Regions from separate parts of the Homo sapiens genome. Here region 2 is linked to region 1. Evidence: promoter capture Hi-C in 16 types of primary human blood cells and fetal thymus (Javierre and others, 2016). All regions are on one chromosome and are shown on one strand. Each heading gives the region's core, a stretch centred on a gene start or on the middle of the fragment in contact. The rest is flanking DNA. Distances are from core to core; before and after follow the strand shown. Region 1 holds the start of MIR381HG (MIR381 host gene). Region 2 overlaps LINC02320 (long intergenic non-protein coding RNA 2320).

Region 1 (6,699 bases), core at 2,180-4,679:
AGCCCTTTGGGAGGCTGAGACGGTGGATGGCTTAAGCCCAGGAGTTCGAAACTAGCGTGGGCAACTTGGCGAAACCCCATCTCTGCAAAAAATACAAAAATTAGCTGGGTGTCATGGTGTGCGCCTGTGGTCCCAGTACTTAGGAGGTTGAGGCTGGAGGATCACTTGAGCCCGGGAGTTGGGAGGTTGTAGTGAGCCAAGATTGTGCCACTGCACTTCAGCCTGGCTGACAGAGACCCCTGTCTCAACACAATAGGTTAAAAAAAAAAGAAAAGAACAAAGGGCCTCCCTTGATGGGCCCTACTTATCACAAAGCATCCATGGGCTGCTACTCCGGCAGGTCTGCCCAGCATGATGCCAGCCTCTGAGAAGAGGTCTCGTGGTCAGTGCATCTCCCAGATACATGAAAGAATGACCGTCAGCAAAGTCAATGTCTAATGTAGATGTGGGTCATCTGGTCTACCCACTCTCCATACCTAGCCCATCCTTGGAGTGACTTTTGGACCTCACTGTCCACTTGAGGGAAGGCCAGTCCACAGGAAGGAGGCCCCAGAGCACCCAGTGTGGCTACAGGACTTGCTGCTGGGACCTCTAAGCCCCACTGCTCTCTTAGTCCATTGGTGTCCTTTAGGGATTCTTGCCAATGGAAAGACCCTTGGATTCCTGGTGTTAGCATGTGTTTATTCAGAGAGAGTTGGCCCATGAGAATCTCATTTTCCTTTGACGAATCTTGCCCTAGATGAATACTTCTGAGTAACAACTAACTGCTCAGATGGCTTTCTGAATACAATGCCAAATTCAGGAGAAGGGACACTTGTCATAGTGCTGCTTTGTGATTTGCAAACGGAGTGCGTTGGATTTCTGTTTCTCTTTTTTCTTTAATGATGCATGTGACTGCATCTTCTAACCTCCCTTAGCCAGTGTTCACCAGGAGGGCTTCCTGGAGGCAGTGGCTTTGGGCAGAGGCAGAGGTTCTTCTCCCAGGGTGTTTTTGCAGGCCCTAAAGGGATTTCAGCCATTTTACATTTACATTATTTCAAATGGTACAGGATTGCCTGTCTTTTGGTAACCAATCCTGTCGTGAAGAGATGCTGGGAAGTAAAGTCAACTGTATGGCAGGCCCCAGCTCCAGGGCCAGCCAGATGAGGCTTGTCACCTGGCCCCTCCCCCTTGGTCTCAGGCCTCGCAGGAGGAGATGTCCACTCCGGCGAAGACCCGGCATAGTCCTCACCTGCTCTTTGAGCCACTCTTTGGTACTTGAAGAGAGGATACCCTTTGTATGTTCACTTGATTAATGGCGAATATACAGGGGGAGACTCTTATTTGCGTATCAAACTCTGTCGAGGAAGACGCTCAGACCCTGCTGTCTCCAGGACAAAGCCTCGGATGTCAGCCCCTCTCAGGTACGGCTTGGCTTCCCTGTCTGGGAACGTGAGCTTGGCTGTGATCCTAGCCCTTGGGTTCTGCCTTCGCTCTCTGTGCTGGTTCTTCCTGTGGACTCCCTGGAGGCAGTGGGAGAGGAGGGTCCTTTTTGTGTGCACTGAGTTTAATGGTGGTTTGCTTTTTTTAAGGATAAATCACATGGATCTGCCTCTTCTCCATACCAAGTCATACCCAGAGGGCTTCCTGCGTCCAGCACTAACCTCGCACCTCTCCGGACACACGAATGGGTGGTGGATGGTGGAGCGCAGAGCTGATGCTGCTTCTCACCTGCTACTCCCCTGACCTGCCACTCCCTGGTGGTCTCCATCCTTGAGAGAGTGTCAGCCTTGAGGGAAGCACATGGATGTCAGGTTGTTCTAAGGCAAGTTACTGGTGGAGCTCCCTGAGCCTGCCTGTGCCCTCTGGGACTGTCGCTGGACTCCAATGGCCAGTCCTCGGAGCACATTGTCCAGTGATTGCACCTGAGTGTGCCTTGGGCAGGTGTGTCTGGTCTTCAGGACTCCTTTGTCGCTAGAGTCTGACGCTGGGGCCCTCTTTTTGTTTGTTTCGAGGTAGGTACAGGTGACACATTCTTGGATCTGGTCATCTCTAGGACAACCAGCCTCAGAGGAGAGACATTGTCTCAGCGCTCTCCAGCTCTGAGAATGCCTGCAGATGCCTTCTTCTCTGATAACTCCATGTCTTGCCGGGCTGAGCCCTCACACCCTGTGCCCCTTTGGAGAAAGGTGATGGTTCCATTGTCCATGTAGCTTGTGGGTATTTGAAGCAGGTTCACCCATGCATGCTGAGCACACTGATAGTCATGCCTACCTGTTCCCTTGTTTAGAAGCCAGTCTCGCCTGCAGGGAGTCCTGGATGTGCCACCTTTCGGGGCCAGGCCACAATGTGCAAGGTGCAGGCCCAGCTCCAGGGTCAGCCAGATGAGGCTTGTCACCGGGCCCCTCCCCCTTGGTCTCAGGCCTCGCAGGAGGAGATGTCCACTCCGGCAAAGACCCGGCATGGTCCTCACCTGCTCTTTGAGCCACCCTTTGGTACTTAAAGAGAGGATACCCTTTGTATGTTCACTTGATTAATGGCGAATATACAGGGGGAGACTCTCATTTGCGTATCAAACTGTCGGAGAAGACACTCATACCCTGCTTGTCTCCAGGACAAAGCCTCGGATGTCAGCCCCTCTCAGGTATGGCCTGGCTTCCATGTCCGGGAACGTGAGGTTGGCTGTGACGCTGCCCCTGGGTTCTGCCTTCGCCCTCTATGCTGGTTCTTCCTGTGGACTCCCTGGAAGCAGTGGGAGAGGAGGGACCTTTTTGTGTGCTCCAAGTTTAATGGTGGTTTGCTTTTTTAAGGATAAATCACACATTGATCTGCCTCTTCTTGGTACCAAGTCATACACAGAAGGCTTCCTGTTCCCAGCATCAGCCTTAGAAGGGGGACCTGGATGTTGGATCATTTCAAGGGGAACACAGACAGCAGTGATGGTGGACCACGGAGCACTGGCTCTGTCTATGCTGTTTTCGAGCCTGGTAGGCCAGCCCCAGGAGGGCTTCCTGGAGGTGGTATTGACCTTGGGGAAGGGGCTGAGGTGTGCTCATCAGCGCTTTTTTTTTTTGATGCTTGGGTGTTCATGATCCAGCTCGCAGTCCCCAGGCTGAATCTGTAAGAATGGTTTGCTTCTATTTGTCATTTGTGATTGCCCATGAAGGCAGCGCTGGGGATGAGCCGTGGGAGCTGTCAGCCCCGCACCAGGTGCGTGCATGTGGGAGGTCAGAGGGCGCCTGCTTCTGCCTCGATGTCTGTGCCCCGTCTCTGACTGCTGGCTTTCTGCTCACACCTAGGATGGCTGCCTGAGAATGGGACTCTTGTTCTGTGTTTGTGGAGACACTCCTTGGGCCGTGTGACTGCCGGCTTTTTACACCCCGACTGCCATGGGGGTCATCTGGACCCGAAGCCAGCTTCAGGAAGGACATTCGCAGCATCCTCAGCCCAAGGAAAGCGAACGTCCAGCTGAAGAGAGGTGAGCACCACGCCTGGGTAATGAGTCACATAACCTGCCACCTGGACCAGGCGGCTCCCGCTCCTCTCCCCTTCTTGAAGGAGAGACCACTGTGGGGAATGGGCTGTGGGTCTGCTTCCTCAGTTACTTGGGGGTACGTGGGGTTTACTACTGTTGACCCTGTGCTCTTTCTTAGCATGGCTTCATGGCCACGATGCCAGCCTCTGGCAGGGGTGGGGCAAGGGCTGGCATGGAGAATGACACTGGTGTCAACGGCTCTGTGAGATGGATGAAGGGATGGTGACCACAGGGCCTTTGCTTTGTCTAAGGTGTAAATTCATCCAGTGCCTGGGACCTCGGTGCTGAGTGCATCCTTAGGAAAACTTCCTGGAGAGGTGCCCACACTGGGAAGGAGATGGTGGTCCCACCCCAGGGAATTCCTATAGAAAGTGAGAAGCTGAGCTCTGCGTGTGCCCAGGAAGGCCCGTGGGGTGGATCTCCTTTTCAGGAACAAGTTCTAATCTGGAGTGATGCCTGGAAAAGAGGCTGATTCTGGTGAAGGGGCACTGGCGTCTGCCCCTTCCTGGCCCCTTTGGGATGGAGAGCTGACCTATGGGCACACAGCTGGCAGGTGGTGTTTGCCACCTGGTCTGCTGATCCCGCATCTCCCACCCCCTCCCCCGCCAGGATGAACCCCGGGAGAGGAGGCCGGCCCCGTGAATGATAGTGAGGAACCTGCCCAGTGCTATTGTTTGGTACTTAAAGCGAGGTTGCCCTTTGTATATTCGGTTTATTGACATGGAATATACAAGGGCAAGCTCTCTGTGAGTATCAAACCTTGTCTTGGACCCAGTCCACACTCAGCAAGGGATGCGGTATGTGTGTGCATGACCGTGTGTATCCGTTTTGTGTGTGGCAAATCGTTCACGGGTCCCCACTTCACAGAGAGGACTTCACGGGCACCTGGATGACTTTAGGGAAGGCAGTGGCCTCTGGGACATCCCCTCTCCTGGTGCAGTGTGGGCGGGGCCAAAAGCATGCACGATGTGTGTGGTCTGGGTCCCTGCTTCCTGAGCGGGAAGTCATCAGCCCGGGCCGATGGCTGGGGTGGCGCTCGTGTGGGGTAGTGGCTTTGTGGTCCCTGCTGTTACTCGGTCCGTGAGTGTGCATGTTCTGCTTGGGGTATGTGACCCGGTCCACTAACCCTCAGCATCTAATTCATCCCCAGGACCGCGCCTTGAAGACGTACCAAGTCCACCCAAGGCAGTGGCTTTCTTTTCCGTGCTAACCTTTGGTACTTGGAGAGTGGTTATCCCTGTCCTGTTCGTTTTGCTCATGTCGAATCGTACAGGGTCATCCACTTTTTCAGTATCAAGAGCGCAGACTCTGGAGCTCGATTTCCTGTGTTTGGATCCCACCTCTGACATTTACTAACCGTCCAACCTTGGGCAAGGATCTCATCGTGCTGTGCCCATTGTCTCACATGTCAAAGGGGAATCACATTGGCGTCCATTTCTTGGGGCTGCTGGGGCTGAACGAGTTAAGACTTGTACACGGCTCAGAGCAGAGCCCCGTGGTCGGCACTTCGTAGGTGGTAGCCAGGACCCTTGTGTGCTGTGAAACTATCATTGGTGGTGGTGGTGGTGGTGGTGGTGGTGGTTTTATGACTAAAATCTCTCCATGGGTTTTTGGAACAGTGTCAAAACATGGAAGTCAAGTCCTTCATCGGGTATGGAATGGACTAGGAAGCCCAGAGCATACACGGTGTTTACAATGGGGGCTAGTGATGCTCTTGATGCTTGGCAGCTAAGCCATTCACACAGTGGCTTTTGATACAGAATGCCACATGCAGTGGGGGTCAGCAGGGGTGCCGAGAACATTTGCTCCACTTAAGAGAGACAGTCCCTGGGTTCTTGACCTCGGCCACTATCTACGCTTTGAAGGAGTCTTGAGCGAGGATGCCAAGCTGAGTGAGGATTCTATGGCATCTTGCTTCCCTGGTGCTTAAAGAGAGGTCAAACTTGGTGCATGCATTGTGCATGCCTGTGTGTGCGTGGTGTGTGTGCATGAGCGAGTGTGTGACTGGGTTTGCCACGAAGCAGTCACCATCTAACCTTGAGCCAAAGACCTGGAGGTGGTGGTCCGTGCTGCTGTTTCATACTTGAGGAGAAATTATCCTTGGTGTGTTCGCTTTATTTATGATGAATCATACAAGGACAATTTCTTTTTGAGTATCAAATCTTGCCTCGGCAGACTTCCTGGACGCCATGACAAGTTCTGTAAAGGGATGCACGCATCAGCCCTTCCCAGGGGCTCACGCCTGGGTGGGGATGAGGGCGCATGCAGTTGGTTTGTGGTGGGGACACTTGTGCCCTAACCTCAGAACCCTGGAGGCGGGGCCACGCTTGGCAGGGGGCCACGGGACTCCTTGGTGCTATCAGGGATTTGCATTGGCCATGGGTGTGTGTTGTGGGTGACGCAGCATTCAAGCTACTTATCAAATCCTGCTTCTTGGAGGCACTTCTTGGACATGAAGCAAACCTTAGGGACCGATCATTGGGGCCAGACCCCCTTCCCCTGCCCAAGAGTGTGACTGACCCCCAGGCATGGGCTTGACTCTCAATGTGTGAAGCTGACCTGCTAATCCTCATTGTTTGGACTACCTGAGAAGAACTTTCTGGAAGAGACACCAACTTTGGAGAAGATGCCCAGCTCTTCTTGATGGCACAGTTCTTTGGTGCTTAAAGAATGGCTGTCCGTAGTATGGTCTCTATATTTATGATGATTAATATCGGACAACCATTGTTTTAGTATCCAAATTTGCTTCAGAAGTTTTTGAAAGCACAGTGCTGACTTCAGTGAGGGGACATTGGTGCCTGCCCCACCATGGAGTGTGACTGTGTTGATGATTTATAATGATGAATCCAGTGATCTCAGAATGCAAGCCACCAGTGTGATTTCCTTGGACAAATGCTAGCTTTGGGGTGGAGATGCCATTTAGGGGCTTGGTGCCATATCTTTTTATTGGAAGATGTTCACAATTATTTCATCTCTCTTTCTCTTCTTGTTATTAAATCTTAGCCACGAGGAATTCCTTGGAGAGATGCCGGGGTCAAGCCTCTCTCTAGGTAGATGGTGGACCGGGGAACCTGGGTCCAGCCTCTCCTATCTGTAGCCTTCATTCTGAGTATGAAACACTTCCTGTAGGGAATGCAAACATTAGTAAAAACTCCGTACATTTCCTGTTACTATTACTACTTTTT
Region 2 (6,699 bases), core at 2,181-4,680, 590 kb after region 1:
GAGCTGAGGTCTTGCAGCTCCTGGGTCTGGGGCGCCGGGGTTCTGTGAGAGCCCCAGCTTCGTCACGTACGACTTCCTCTCCTCTAATTGAGGGAATTGCAGAAGCCCCGGAGGGCGGCTGGTTCAGAGACCGAAACAAAGGCAGGATCAGGACCCTGGATCAGAATGGGGTCCACGCGTGAGTCTCTGTAATTAACGCTCTGGTGTCTCAAATTACGAGAAAATATATAAAACATGTAATTGCTTCTGTATTTTGGACACTCATTAGGAGAATAATAAATGTTATTATTTATTAATATGGTAATGAATCATCTCGCTTTTAAAATTAAACATTAAACCGCTAACAAATTAAATGTAAATTATTAGGCCCCGAGTTGATGGAAAGAGTTCCCCGGGGAGGGGCCGCTGGGCTCCTTCTTTGCAGAAATGAGTGCGTCGCCCTTTAACTAGGCGCGGAGGCTGCGAGCGGTGCGGGGTGACCTGAGGACACCCGAAGACACGGGCGACTCGCGGGGACATCCTGCCCCCTGCCGGCCGCGAGCGGGACCGCAGCGGCCCGCGGGTAGCGTCCCGCCGCGGAGGTGGTTTTTCCTTGTGATCTTTCCAGAAGCAGTGAAGCCCTCTTGGGCACCCGCGCCCCTCGCCTGGCAGACAGCCACCCGCTCGCGCACGAACTCGCTGCACAGAGCTGTCAGGAGTGGGGCGTGTGGCCTGGAGCGAGGCTGCTCGCGTAGGCTGGGCCTGGGCTCCTGGCCGTGTTGTCACCGCCAATCCCCACACACGCAAGAGAAAGCAGCTTCTAGCCTCATCTCACACACGGGAAAGTGAGGCTCAGAGATGTGTGGCCTGGCCGGGGTGCACAGCCAGTATCCGGTGGGCCTGGGATGCCAGCCCAGCCTGCCAGGCCCCAGGGTGGCCATCATGGAGTGGGACTCCCGGGCTGGCCCCCCAGAGCCTGTTCCAGGCACGTGCATTTGAATTAATGGGGTTACTGTTTCCTGAGGGCTCTTGCCAGACACCAGCTACTTACTGCACGTGGTTGAGCCCAATCAAGTAGGCAGTGTGCCCTGTGCCCATCTTACGCACGAGCAGACTGAGGCACGGAGAGGCTTCAGCGACTTGCCCAGGTCAGCAGCAAGGAAGTAGGGGCAGGAGAGAGAAGTAGGTCTTGCTGAGTCTAGAGTTAGCTCTTGACCACTCCAGGCCAGACTGGGTTCTCCCTCCTTCCAGGAGGAGGGCAGGCAGCCCCATCTGTGCCCATCCCTGCGGTGCACAAAACAGTGCAGCTTCCGGGCCACTGGCTGTGTTTCTAGGGATCACCTGAGTTAAAGCAAGAAAAGGAATCATTATTTTTTTAACCAATACATGATTTGGGGCTTAGAGGTTGTTTGCAGTCACTCTTATGAAGAATGCTACAGCAGACACCGTGGGTTCAAGGTTATTTCCTTGGGAAAGACTTCCAGAAGTCAAACTGCTGGAACCAAAGGCTGGGACAGCAGGATTTTGGCATGCATGTTATTAGGATCCTTCTCGTATATGTGTCCCAGCTTGCACTCATCTGGGGAGGGACTCAGAAAAGAGGGCCTCCTCCCCTCACAACCAATAGCACCCTTGAGATGGCCCAGGCTGGCAGGGTTGGAAAAGTCCAGCTCATCTATGGTCCAGTTCTCTGGTGGGCACTGACCCTTGAGCCAGCCACACCCACACCCACACCCACACCCATGCCTGTGGGGATCAGAGGTCAATAGATGCAGCCTCCAATGGTCTGAGGCTCCCTGACTTTCCTCCCGCCTTCTCTCCGTGTGTAATCCCAGCCCAGGGCCACCCTTTGGTGGCAAACACAGACACCCCTGTGTCAGCCATACGTATTCAGCCAAGGCTTTATGAGTACCTTCCACTTAGGAACCCTCACTTCTGTCTCTGCCTTCCCTTGCGATTATGAGTCCCAGCAATGGCAGCTGAGCACTCAGGATGCCCACTCCTGGCTCTGACTTTACGTCACTTTCTCAACACGTTACAGGTGAAGAGCCTGCCAAGTGGCCGAGCCACGATTTGGCCCCAGAGCCCAAGTTCTGTTCTTTCCTTGGGTCTCTGCTGTCTGCCCAGGCCTGAGCATGGTCCCTCAGACAGGCTCAGGAAGTATTTGTGGATGAATCAATGAACGACCCCGTGAGGGCCTTTGCCTTTCTCCCCTGCCAGGCTGGGAGCCCCCAGAAGACAAGTGGGGTTGACCATGTGCCTGGAAGGAGTCACGGCTCCTCTCTAGACCGGAACTCCCCACTAGAGCGATGGGGTGCCACAGGGTATCCCAGCAGGCCCGGCAAGCACATCACAGGAGCGTGGAGAAGCGGGACCAGCCGTGCCCCCATCCCTGGGAGCCCTGCCCCCAGCCTTGTCTAAGGCCTCACTTGCCCCATATCTGGTTTGGGGAGCAGGTTTCTCACCCCAATATGATTCTGTTCTCTGCCCCCTCTGCCCTCCTACCCCACACATCCCAGCGTGGATGGACGAGACTTCGCCCCTGCCTCCTGCCCGGGCCCCTGCCATGGGAAGGGGACGCATTATTGCTCTCTCTCAGGGCTATTCAGACACCAACTAATTTATTTCCCTCCTGCCCCCTTCCTTATTGATCAATGCTTTAGCTGAGTGGCTGTTAAATGACTTGTTCCCATAGCAACCATCAGATACATGCTCGGATCTGATGTGTCTGTTTCCTGAGCCAGATCGCCTCCTAAGAGCTTGGAGAGAACAAATCTCCTTTCATATCCGTCGCTGTCTTCTGAAAGGCACAGGATATTGTTCAGAACAAGTCATTTTTTAAAACAATATTAAAAAAAGAACTAGGTTTTTCAACAGATATAAAGTTGTTTCATAAGGTGCATCATTCTTAAGAAGTATTAAATCAGATTTTAAAAGCTTTGACCAAGTTAATCTTTCTTCTGCCTACTTTTCCTTCTGCACAGGGGGAAGTATGGAAACGGTCTCTGCATAAAGATACTCTGCTGCATCATTTATAAAAAGAAAAATTGAAAACAGCCTAAAAGCACAATAGACGATTCAAATGATCTATGGTTCACATACCTGTGAGGGTTTTATAGAGATGCTGAAACGCTGCTTAGAAGAGAGAAACACACATGTCAACAACGTGAAGTGAAAAAAAAGAAACAAGATTAAAAACTGTGTCTGCACGGGTGAGCATAATGAATGGAAAACAAAGCTAAATTATGTAGAGGAAAAAATACTCAGGAAAACAAACACAGTGAAATGTTGACAGAAGTGTTTCTTGTTGGCAGAGCCATGGGATTTTCTTCCTTATTCACTTACTTAATACATATTTATTGAGCACCTACTACGAGCCCAGCCCTGTCTGAGGCATTAACAGCACAACTGCTATTTCTACTGCCTATATTTTCCCAAATGTGTTTAAAACTGTTTTAAAACTATGTATTTTTTTCTTATTTTTGTTTGTTTGTTTGTTTGTTCTGAGACAGGCTCAAGTGATCCTCCCACCTCAGCCTCCCCAGTAGCTGGGACTACAGGCGTGCACTACTACACCCCACTAATTTTTGTATTTTTTGTAGAAACAGGGTCTCGTTGTGCTGCCCAAGCTAGCCTCGAGCTCCGGGCCTCAAGCAATCCACCCACCTCAGCTTCCCAAGCTCTGGGATTACAGGTGTGAGCCACCGTGCCCAGCCAAGTATAATTTTTTTTAATGACAGGGTACATGTTTCACCTGCCACGTTGCCAACAAATAAACATAAGACGCTCTGTTGGTGAGGAGAGGATATAGGAACACCAGCCCCGCCTGGCAGAAGAATGAATGACCACGACCAATAAAGGACCAGTTATCAACACTTAAAACCGACATACTTTTTCCCAGCAATTCCACCTGTAGTCATTGTCCCTACTGGGATTCTCTCCCACCTTTGTCGTGGGATGTTTACGAAGCTTGTTTACCGTGGCATGTGACTGCTGGAACCCCGAATGGTCCTCGCCAGGGGATGGCTACCCAGATCGTGGTTCAGACTCAGGAAAACACTGAGCCCTGAGAAGAACGAGGCGATCTGCCAGTGTGTGGAACACTAAGCTGAGGTCCCTAAGGGACAGAGCAAGGCGGATCACTTGAGATCAGGAATTCGAGACCAGCCTGGCCAACATGGTGAAACCCTGTCTCTACTAAACATACAAAAATTAGCCGGGCGTGGTGGCGGGCACCTGTAATCCCAGCTCCTTGGGAGGCTGAAGCAGGAGAATCCCTTGAACCTGGGAGGTGGAGGTTGCAGTGAGCCGAGATCATGCCCAAGATCTCTGCTCTTCCCCCGTCTTGCCTTAGTGATCCTGGGCATGTCCCTTCACCTCTGCGGCCTCAGTTTCTCATCTGCACAGTGAAGATGCTGATGCCCGCCTGGCTGATGCCCGCCTGGCTGCTTCCTGGACAGATTTCCCAGGATGTGCTGTGTGACAGGCCTTCCACACAGGCCCTCAGGCACCTTTTCTTCTTCCTGAGATGGAAACAACAAAAAAGTTGGTGCATGGTCACCAGCGATCCCCAAACTACGACCTCTGCCCTCTTTTCCTGCAGACCCCTCAAAAATCACGAAAGGGGCCCTTGCAATAGGGGGTCTCTATGGACTCAAACAAAGGGCTTTCCCTGGGAGGGGCTGCCGGCCTTTGCCTATAACATGCGTGATGTAGTTTTTAAGACTAGCAAAAGCCCAGCCTGGCATTATCTAGCATTGAGGTACAGCGTCTCACGGAAAGTTCTTTTTTATTCCCCAGGCTGTCCCCTTCTCCTCCATTCCCGGATAAGCCTTCACTCACCTCTGCACCTCACCAGCATCCACTCAGAGAGACCCAGCCCCTCAAACCCAGCCAGCAGGGACCACGCTGCACATTAAGTTTGCTCAACTGCTCCAGGTTATTTGAAAACTTATGAAACCTTTTTCTTAAAAAAATCAAAGTCCCATTGTGAGAGGGAATCCAGTACTTTCTTAAAAGTACTAACTCAGCAGCTGCAGGAATCTTCCTGACCTAAAGAAAGAGGAAGGAGAAAAAACACAATCACCCCTGGCTTCTGACACGCATACTCCTGGCTGGATTCTAGATTAGAACAAAGGGGACATAGGTCACGGAGCCATTTCTGTGCCTAGACACCACCTTTGATTTTGCAGGGTGGCGCACCAGGGCTTAGCCACAAGGGGGTCGTGATTCAGTGGGTATGAACTCCAGTGGGGGAGTGCGGGGAGAGACAGCAGGCCAGTGGTCCTTCGGGGAAGATGCGGGAGGGGGTTCTTTTTTAATTTTTCTGGTCTGTTCCACATAACTGAATGCCAGGGACCCAACCTGGATGGGTAGGGGGTGCCAGGTGCAGACCTGACTCTGCACTAGGAAGGAATGCTTGTCACCACCGGCAGGCATGTGTGCTTCTCAGCCCGTCCCAGAGGACAATCCCGAACCACTGATCCAAAGCCTTAAAACCCTGCAGAACTTTTGACCCAGGCCCCACTGCTAGGAATGAATAACATAGTAAAGATAGGTGGGACGATTGAGCTACCAGCGTGTTTATGACTACCACGTTTTCAGCAGGTGAAGTGCAAAGTGCCTAATGTTCACAAGAGGGGCTGAGTTGAGCAAAAGCAAATTTCAGTTCAGCCATACCCTAAAATATGAATACAAATATTGCCGTGGCTAATACCATGAAAACTTGGTCTCATCAAACCGTCTAGCAGATTACAAGCACTCTGGACAGTATGTTACTATGCAGAGACATAGGAAAATGTCTACGAAGAAATACACCAAAATGTTAATGACAGTCATCTCTGAGTGACTTCTCTTTGTTAATATCTCTGCATGTTCTGATGTTTCCCACAATAAACTGATGTATCTTTTGTTGATTTCAGAGCGTGGCCTTGAGGATGTTCCTTCACCTCTCTGAGCTTCAGGCTCCTCACCTGTACAATGAAGACAGCACCTGCCTCATGGATTTGCTAATATATGCAAAATGCATAGCTTGCTGCCTGGAAGATAATAAGTACCCAAATGTTAGCTGTTTTTATTTTTCGCTCAATTTTCTACATATAAACATGTCATTGTGCTCCGTGCTGGGGATATGGCAGTGACAGCTAAACTCCAGAAGAGAAAGATTAAACCAACACTCACAGACGATTAATCCGCTGCCGTGAGGACCAATGATGTATTCATTACAGTTAGGGATGCTGTGGTGGGGGGCACGTTGAGAGCATTTATCAGGGGAACTTTGTTGAGAGTTTTGATCATTATCTTAAGAGCAACAGGAAGCCTGACATTGAAGGCTTCAAGCAGAGCTGTGAAATCAGAAGTTCATGGTTTAAGAACTCACCATATCCACACCGTGGACTGAGAGGGGCCCCAGGGAGGTGCCTTCCCAGGAGGCTGCTGTGGGGGTGCGAACCACGGAGGAAGTGCTGCCACGGCAGATGGGGCGAAGTGGACAGACCCCAGCCCCTTCAGGAGGTGCAGTTTGCAAAATCTGGACACAGTGATGCCTCGGAGGGGCTTGTGGCGGGATGGTCGGGTGACCCCAGACCTCTAGTCTGATGTAGTGCGCCGATGGTTCCTGGATACAGAGGACTCAGTGGGGAGCAGGTCTGGGGCGTTGCGGAGTGTGTCTAGGGGAGTGTGTCTGGGGACATGCTGGTTTTGGGTTGCCTGGGCGGGGGA

Evidence for each region. The method cuts DNA at HindIII sites, captures the fragments that hold promoters and counts their contacts. A CHiCAGO score of 5 or more calls a contact.
Region 2: a contact is called between a fragment that was not itself captured here and the fragment with the promoter of MIR381HG in region 1, in 4 of 17 cell types (total CD8 T cells, megakaryocytes, erythroblasts and 1 more). The highest score is 6.4, in total CD8 T cells.

The regions. Positions count from the first base shown.
Region 1 is chr14:101,041,728-101,048,426 of GRCh38, forward strand. It overlaps MIR381HG (MIR381 host gene), which reads left to right and starts at 3,430. Exons shown (of 3, transcript NR_104192.1): 1 at 3,430-3,457. MIR1185-2 (microRNA 1185-2) reads left to right here and starts at 2,471; the gene lies at 2,471-2,556. MIR381 (microRNA 381) reads left to right here and starts at 4,193; the gene lies at 4,193-4,267. It overlaps MIR1185-1 (microRNA 1185-1), which reads left to right and starts at 1,250; the gene lies at 1,250-1,335. It also overlaps MIR487B, MIR539 and MIR889. RefSeq lists enhancers at 4,038-4,538, 4,539-5,039. The HindIII fragment of the contact is 10,476 bases long and covers 1-6,699 here.
Region 2 is chr14:101,628,085-101,634,783 of GRCh38, forward strand. It overlaps LINC02320 (long intergenic non-protein coding RNA 2320), which reads right to left. Exons shown (of 6, transcript NR_184269.1): 3 at 6,359-6,595; 4 at 4,822-5,031; 5 at 4,329-4,502; 6 at 265-1,320. Among named protein-coding and RNA genes, the nearest start is that of DIO3, 70 kb to the left of the region's middle. The HindIII fragment of the contact is 1,032 bases long and covers 2,915-3,946 here.